2 separate regions of the Homo sapiens genome follow, and region 1 is linked to region 2. Evidence: promoter capture Hi-C in 16 types of primary human blood cells and fetal thymus (Javierre and others, 2016). All regions are on one chromosome and are shown on one strand. The core of a region is centred on a gene start or on the middle of the fragment in contact, and the rest is flanking DNA. Distances in the headings are between cores, read along the strand shown. Region 1 overlaps LOC105377848 (a long non-coding RNA gene). Region 2 holds the start of SMAP1 (small ArfGAP 1).

The links. The method cuts DNA at HindIII sites, captures the fragments that hold promoters and counts their contacts. A CHiCAGO score of 5 or more calls a contact.
Region 1: a fragment that was not itself captured here is called in contact with the fragment with the promoter of SMAP1 in region 2 in 1 of 17 cell types (total CD8 T cells); the score reaches 5.4 in total CD8 T cells.

The regions. Positions count from the first base shown.
Region 1 is chr6:70,362,893-70,367,121 of GRCh38, forward strand. The region is part of intron 1 of LOC105377848 (a long non-coding RNA gene); the gene reads right to left. Among named protein-coding and RNA genes, the nearest start is that of LINC01610, 29 kb to the right of the region's middle. The HindIII fragment of the contact is 3,427 bases long and covers 517-3,943 here.
Region 2 is chr6:70,665,949-70,669,992 of GRCh38, forward strand. It overlaps SMAP1 (small ArfGAP 1), which reads left to right and starts at 1,935. Exons shown (of 11, transcript NM_001044305.3): 1 at 1,935-2,193. The coding sequence starts at 2,076. RefSeq lists silencers at 1,717-2,116, 2,267-2,496, 2,617-2,676. The HindIII fragment of the contact is 2,958 bases long and covers 1-2,142 here.

The sequences.
Region 1 (4,229 bases), core at 980-3,479, 300 kb before region 2:
GTTTCCCAAGAGTAGTGAGATGACTTAAGAAAGGAGAGAGTTGATATGAAGTATCAGGCACGTTTCTGCCCTCTGAACATTATCTGAGATACTGCCGTCATACCTGAAGTGTTTTTTTCCGTAAAGGAAGAGTTCTTTTTAATTGTCCACAGCCGTACATTATTAATCAAACTCTGTCTTTGAATCATAATTCATGCTCAAGCCCCTAGAAGTTAAAAGCGTGAATGAAAATTTATAAAAATTTGAAAACTTCACTCAGGAGGTCATTGAGAGTACATTAAAAGGCATTTAGTTTGTTTAGATGTAATGTATTTTATTATTAGGGCTGATTCACACTCACTGTAATACTCCAGGGGGATTAACCACATTAATCTAATTATGAGAGTTTCACAGCACTCTTAGCAGAAAGACATTCACCAAACTTCAATTATTTTTAGAAGCTCTATCTTTGAATGTGATTTAAAATGTGATTAAGTTCCCTTTTGTGTTATCTAAACTGAATAAAGGCATTGTTTAAGCTTATTCACAGACAAAAGAATAACTTTATTAATTTTTGTTTCCTCATACAGCTTAAATCTAACAATGAAAAATATATGCTTTTATTTATATCTAATTATATTTTTCATTATTCTGTAAACTAAATGCAGGTTTCATATTGGATTGTCTTGAACCCAATAAAGTACAAACATAAAATGGTTTTATTTTCTTCCCTTTCACTGCTTTCGGACTTACTTTGTCAAATCTCCCTTTCCTGACCCCTTACAACATCTTGGGTAGATCCCATAGCTTTCTGGTGACTTCGAATATTAAAAAAATCCAGTTAAGTCTAGGTCGGTTTAATATTTTAGATCTTATACAGTATTCAATTTATATTCATATCCTTGCTTTCCAGACCTCTAGTCAGCTGCATCGTGAAGGATGTGGAGGTACCCAGGCCACTGTGTGTTATTTCACTCTTTCAAAGAGGTAGTGAAGCAGGATATTTCCCTGGCCCCTTCATGGGACTCACAAAGGGGGTGCCTTGTTTCCTCAGCCTGCAGTTCTCAACTCCTCGCAGGAGGGAGCACGCAAGCGAATAAGGTGGGAAATTGTGTGCCCGGGCACTGGAACTAGCCAGCCACTTCAGTGCTGGCAGTGGCAAATTCCACTCACTTGGAGCCACTGCGCTCCACCCCTCGTGGGAAGGCGCATGCAGGTGAGCAGGTGCAGGAGCCAGGGCAAGCACTTTTGGGTGTGAGCAGGAGCAAAGTCTGTGCAGGCCCCAACAGCAACATCTGGGAGGGTACCTGTGACCCCTGAAGTCCCAGAGGGAGTGTTACAGTGCTCTTTTAGTGCTGCTGTCCACAGACAGCTTAAGTGTTAACAGCTCAGTGGACCCTCTACCTTTTGGTGTGAGGCAGCTGCCTTTTGCCAGAGAGGGCAAAGGGTCAGTGTGACAGCCTTTTGTATCTGCACTCGTGGTTCCTGAGTTCTTCTGTGGCGTCCAGGAGGAATGAGGTCACATGAACAAATTGAAGGATTGTAAATGTGGGAAATTTTATTGCCGATGGGCATGGCTGTCAGTGGGAAGGGGAGCTGAAAAGGGGACAGAGCTGGAAGGTAATCTTCTCCTGAAGTCCAGGAGTCTCCAACCAGATTCTTCTCCCAAGTTACACGGTCAAGCTGTCCCTCTGGAATCAAGCCGCTTCTCCCCGACATCCAGCTATAGTCTCTGATGTCCAGCTGCTTCTCCTCTCTCTGTCAGCTGGGTATGAGGTTTTTTATAAGCCCAGGATGGAGGGCAGGGCAGGCAATGAGTGGTTTTGGAAAAGGCAACATTCAAGTGGGAAAACAGGGATGTAAGTTCTCACTTCTGGCTGCGGTTTCAGGCTTTTCAGCTGGAGGGTGGGGCATTTGCCAGGGACCCGCCCTTTCTGCCTAGAATTTCTCTGCCTCCTGCCTCTATCGTTGTATCCATAGGAGCAGAAATATGATATTGAACAAATGGAAATAGTGGCTGAGACCAAAACCAGTAGTGTTCATCAAATTTCCATGTTCTCACCAATGGAATGTAGGGGAGATGAGGTGTCCCTTCTGGTATAGCAGTTAAAATCAAGTGTGACTTCTGCATGTTGACTCTCTCCTAAGGCTAGCTGATTAAACACAAAGCACTCAACTCCAACATGGCAGTGTTAAGCTGGATGCAGCCTGGCCCCTGGGTTGCCGCTGGAAGGGAAGTGGTGTAGGAGAGCTACCAGGCCAGCCTGCAACAGACTGCAATGTAAAGGGAGATATGTCTCTGTTTCATTAAGCCATTGAGAGCTCAGCAGTTTTTTGTTATTATGACATAATCTAGCCTATTGTGATTAAGACAAAAATAGATCTGGAAGTGAGGCACAGGAGGCAAAGAATGGGCTACACTGGAGATATCTAAACAGAGAAAGGAAGAAGAGAGAATGATTGTATGAGAGAATAACAAGTTGTGTGAGCTTGCTTATAAATAGTTGAGAAGGAACCAGTAAAGAAAGAAACAGGCAATGCAAGAAACAGGGGAGCTAATAGACAGATCTGTTCTCATGAAGAGAAGTGAAAGGTTGAGATTAAGGACTCAAATGAAGAGATACATCTTAGAAGGTGTCTTTGCTCAGAGACAAGAGCAAAGGAAAGTGAAATGGGAGAAGAAACCAAAAAACAGAAGGGGGAAATGATTGAAAGTTGCAGAAAATGTAATAAGCCGCAAAAGGGACCATTTTTAGCCACCTTCTGACAGAAGTGTAATCAAAGCAATTTCCAAGTGACTGAGCTTATATTAATCTTCTCTCACACACTTAAATTTATTCGGCTTTATCCCTACAGGCCACATGTAATACCTATTCTTAATTTATGCTAAGCCTGATATCTTCTAAATCTTACATGTTTTTAATGCAGTACTAGACAGAGTTATTCATGCTCCATGCACACTAGCAATATCATAAATTCAGATTTGGAATTACTGAGGTATGAGAGAGCTTACCAACCTGAACTCAACAGAAGTCCAACAGCATTATGCATAGGTTTTACAGAAAGAGATTTTGTTTGAATTGAGCATCAAATAGAAGAAAAAGATACATAGCATTTGAAAAAAAAGGTTTTAAAAACAATTTACAGAAAAATATATTCTGCCTTATATTAAAGAGATGGGAAGAAAATAAGAAAAGGAGGGATAGAGGGAGGAAGGGAAAGTTACCAGTTTAAAATTTTTGTTAAGTTGTAAGATACACTTTCCTTCTACTTCTGCTCCCTCCCACTAAATTCCCAAACCCACAGTGACCAAGTCAGTGGACATGTAGCCATGCAAACTGACTGTTCCCAATAAATCCCTCAACAGATTTGGAAATATTAATTTATTTTATATGTGACAATATCACTCTTTAAAAACAGGTGGTGGGTTTTGTGTCAGTTATCTTATCAACAGATCAGACTTTAGCATCTTCAGGGATCTTATTTCAAGAGTACAGAATAATTATCTATTGGTTTTCATACAGTTAATAATCAAGCCCCTCTCTCCTTCCTTTCGAATATCTCATATCTGCCCACTTCTTTCACTCACACTGTCTCACACTCTATTCAAGCCCCACATCACCTTACACCCAGAATTCCTAGCTCTTTAGAGTTCCCAGCCCCTGTCTAAACTAAACACCTCCTTAAAGCATTATCTTCATCATGTCATTCCCAGATTTAAAAACTTGTAATGCCTCCTCAATGTGTATAACAGGGGATATTTACCTGGCGTTCACAAAAAGGTTTCCAGAGGACTTCTGAAAGCACTGAAATTCTGTGCAATCATTTGTGTGCTGTGAATTATTTTGCTGGTAAAAATATCTAGTTTCTTCAAATCCTTCTTGAGGTCCTACAAAAGGCTGACAATCATCCATCTTTAGGGCAAAAGTTAAGCTCAATGACCAGTATTCAAGAGGTGAGATCAAGCTTGCATTTCACTCTCGTCCCCTAAGTCAGGTCCTTAGGTGGGTAAGTTCTCCTCATCCTATACATTTATTTATTCATTCAACAAACATTCATTGAACACTTCTATGTTCCAGACATGATTATAGGCACTCAGGACACATAGATGAAAGAATAGCCTCCTCCCTAAGGTATTTCCAAACTCTTATAACAACTCCCCTGTCAAGCAGGTGGGAAACTAGGTCTATGGCTGTGCTTGATATTTCAGAAATTGGAGAAAGGTATCAGACTGGGATGAGAGAAAGGGT
Region 2 (4,044 bases), core at 685-3,184:
AAAAGATCCTTTTTATTATGCTATTATCCTACTTGAAGAATCTACAGGTTTTCTTTTTCTTTTTTTGGGGGGGGGGTGGGTGGGGAAGGAGTTTTGCTCTTGTTGCCCAGGCTGGAGTGCAATGGCCTGATCTCCGCTCACTGCAACCTCTGCCTCCCGGGTTCAAGCGATTCTCCTGCCTCAGTCTCCTGAGTAGCTGGGATTAAACAGGCATGCGCCACTACACCCGGCTAATTTTGTATTATCAGTAGAGACAGGGTTTCTCCATGTTGGTCAGGATGGTCTCGAACTCCCCACCTCAGGTGATCCGCCTGCCTCGGCCTCCCAAAGTGCTGGGATTACAGGCGTGAGCCACTGTGCCTGGCAAAAATCTACAGGTTTTCTACTGTCAATTTGCATCAAGGCCAGACTACTTTGTCTGGCTTCCCAAGTCTTCCATAACCCTATCATAGTTTACTTATGCAGCCTTATCTCAAAAGTAGTACCTTTTGTTCCAGTCTGTTTTCCAAGGTACTTCAGGTCTTCATGCTTTTGTGCAAGCTGCTCTTTCTTAATATCTCCCTCCCCAGTCCCCATCTAAATCCAGCGTATCTTCAGGACAAGGCTCGTAAGTTCTACCTCCCACATAATGTTTTTTTCTGTTCATTGGAACTCACCAATATCTCCCTAGTAGTTATTTGTCAGAGCTATGTAGTATAAGCTCTAATTTGTTTAATTACTGAGCATCTTCATTGCCATATCCATTCAATTTAATTCCAGAAACATTTTTGAGCCCCTGTGCCAAGAACAGGGCTAGGTAGCAATGAGGGTCACTTTTATGCAGGGACAGGGGCTAGAAATTGGCCTTACTAAGAAGTGTAAGACCGACTCTTGCTCATTGCCTTTCTTAGCATCTGCTTCATCGCAGGCAAGGACTGTGTTTATTTGGCTTGCATAAGCCCCATATTAGAACTTCCTCATAATATACAACATGCCAAATCATCGAAACTGCGTCACCCGGAGTTCAAACTTCATGAGCCTGGATTAGGGTCTGGGTTCCAATGAAAAGTGTTTTCTTTAGTTCTCTTTCTCTTGCATTAAGGATCACTATTTACACAGCTTCTTGTTAAAGTATCACCGCCTAGTACTTGGGTTCCTGGTCACACTTTCCCCCTTATGGAAGGGCTTACTGCCAGGTCTTTCAGACTCTGGAGCCAGACTGCTTTGGATTTAAATCTCAACTCCTCCACTAGTAGTTCTGTAATCTGGTCAGGTTACTTAACTCCTCTATGCCTCACTTTCCTCCCCTGTGTAATGAGGATAACAATATCATAAGGTTGGGGAAAGGGTTAAATGAGCTAACAGTTCGTTTAACAGAGTAATCACTCAATGAAATGTTATCCCCTAATACATGTCACTACTAGATTATTTCTCGCCCTTAAAATGTAAGAGACCGTTTTTCCTCTTTTCTTCCATCCGTGTCTCCAGCTTCTAAACTGCAGGCGAATAAACCTCGAATGAGTAAATGAACCCACCCAGTCGCTAGTTATTTCTGCATTTCCAATGTTGTGCCAGCAAGAGCAAAGGCAAATGGGCAAGTCAAAGTAGGCTTCTTGTAAAAGGTCTTCCATTACTGGGTTTTACTAGAGGCCCTTGCGGACCATCACATCTCAAAAGGGGGGAAAGCTCGTATGAGGCAGTGCCAGCTACCTTTCGGGAATCACCTTGGGCAGAAGGCCTTTTTGCAAAAAGACTCGGCAGCCCGGGCCCCGTAGGTTCGGCGCATGCGCAGCGCGCTCGGCGCCCGGGTTCCTTCCTCCGCGCCACCCGGAAGCCTCGGCGCGACCCAGTCCCCCTCCCCCTCCCCTCGCCGGCTAGGGTGGTGCGTGCCGGCAGGCCGGTCAAGGAGGCGGGACACGTCGGCGCTACCACCGCCACCGCCGCCGCCGCCCCTCCTCCCGTTCCAGCTGCCGCTGCCGCTTCCTGGGCTGAGTCCGCCCGCGGTCCCGGCGGCGCCAGGTGCGTTCACTCTGCCCGGCTCCAGCCAGCGTCCGCCGCCGCCGTAGCTGCCCCAGGCTCCCCGCCCCGCTGCCGAGATGGCGACGCGCTCCTGTCGGGAGAAGGCTCAGAAGCTGAACGAGCAGCACCAGCTCATCCTATCCAAGCTTCTGAGGGAGGAGGACAACAAGTACTGCGCCGACTGCGAGGCCAAAGGTAGCTTGGACGTCGTCGCTGCCCACGGTCGGGGCCTCTTGCGACCGGTGACCTTCCCGCCGCTGCGGCGCTCGGGGCCCGAGCGGACGCCTCGGCTTCGCTGGCCGGCTCCTGCCCTGACTGGAGGGCGGGTGGCTGAGCGGGCGGGCGCGGGGCTCCTGTCGACCCTCAAGTCCGCCAGAGGCGGCGGCGAGGTCAGGCCCGCAGGCCCTGTCAGTGGCCCCAGCCTCCCCTCCTCCCAGACACGGGTTTGAGCAGGTGCCAGGGTAGCGATGCTCGGACCCTCCACAGGGCTGGGGGTAGGAGCGAGGCTGGGAGCGCGGAACCGGGCACGGGTCTGGGCAGAGCTTAGGGTTAGAGAGTTGCCCTCCTAGCTCTGCTCATAGCTATCTCTGTGGGTGGGGCCGCGCTTAGGTCTGGATCCCCTCCTCTACCCTCCGGTGTGACCACGTCCTCCCACTCCGGGCTCGGATTCTTGGTCTCCTAGATGGAGCCCTACCTGCCTGCCCACCTGACAGCTTTTGTACAAGGCTTTTATCTCTGCTTCCTGAAAAAGAGTATGGTGGTCTTTTTCGGTGGGTTTGAGTTTTACGGAATAAATTAATTGGAGAAAGGTCTTTATTAGTAGTAGTATTGTTTTTTAGTCTGGTTATTAGCCAGAATGAAGAGGAATTTCATTACATGAGTCTCTTGGAGGACGGTGGGTTTGTATTTCTGAAGATTTTAGTAATTAGGTTTTCTCTGACCAGCTAGTTTGGGAGAATATGTGGACACTGATTTGTGTACCTCATAAATGCTGAAGGTTCATTTTAAAGATCTAGAGATGGAAAAAACCTAATTTTAGTTTTTTCGGTTGGAGGGCTTCTGCCTCAGCCTTTGAAACAGATATACTATTTTTAGCTGCTATGTTTTGTGTTTGGAGATCTGATTTATGTTTAATGTCTTGTAAGTAATCTCAAGGGAAATATTTCTTTTTTTTTTAAAGAAATGTCTTGTGTAGTTAAGAAAAGATCGTGTATATTTTTAATTGGTTTATTTCGTTATTGGGTGAGAAATAGGGTAGTTCTCTAAAGCAGGAGACAGTCTCTTTGGGGAATGTCCTTTAAGATTTCTGTGTTATTTGACTTAGACTTTTCCTGAAGCTTTACTGTTCTATCTCAATACTATATAAATGAGTCACATTTCAGTAGGCTGATAATATTTGACTAGACTGAGCCACACAGCATCAGCAGGTTACTTCACTGTCGTAACAGGTACTGAATTACTAGAAGAATCATGCGGGAATACTGTAACTAGATTATTTTTATGAAGCACTTTTCAATATAGTAACTTGATTGAGTCAAGATTATATTTATCCTATGTAACCTTTTCAGGTGATGAGTTTTTACAAAGTCCGTGCCTGGTTCTTGTAATACTTGTTTTCCTAGTAACTTGATTGTGTGTGGTTATTTGGGAGTTCTGCACTGTGTTTAGGCTCAGTTGCTTGCTCATTGACTGCACTAGCAAAACACTGAAAAATGGTCCTTTAAAAGGCCAAGAAGAAGAAAGAAGCTGAAGCTAAATAGTACACATTTTGTCATTTTGAGTAATAACATGGTTAAGTAGAGATGCTGGTAAATATTAAATCTGTTCATTAAAAGTCGAATAGTAACAGTTTCAGAATTAACCTTCCTTCATCTACAGACTTTATTAAAAATAATTTAATTTTTGTTCAAATTTCTGTCTCCAAAAAAGTACTTTATAAAATCAGATTTTCACTAATGCTTTCTAAAATAATACAGATTTTTAAAAGCCATTATTAACCATGTTAACTTTTTTTTTTTTTATTTACTCTTTTGAGGTGGGGAGAAG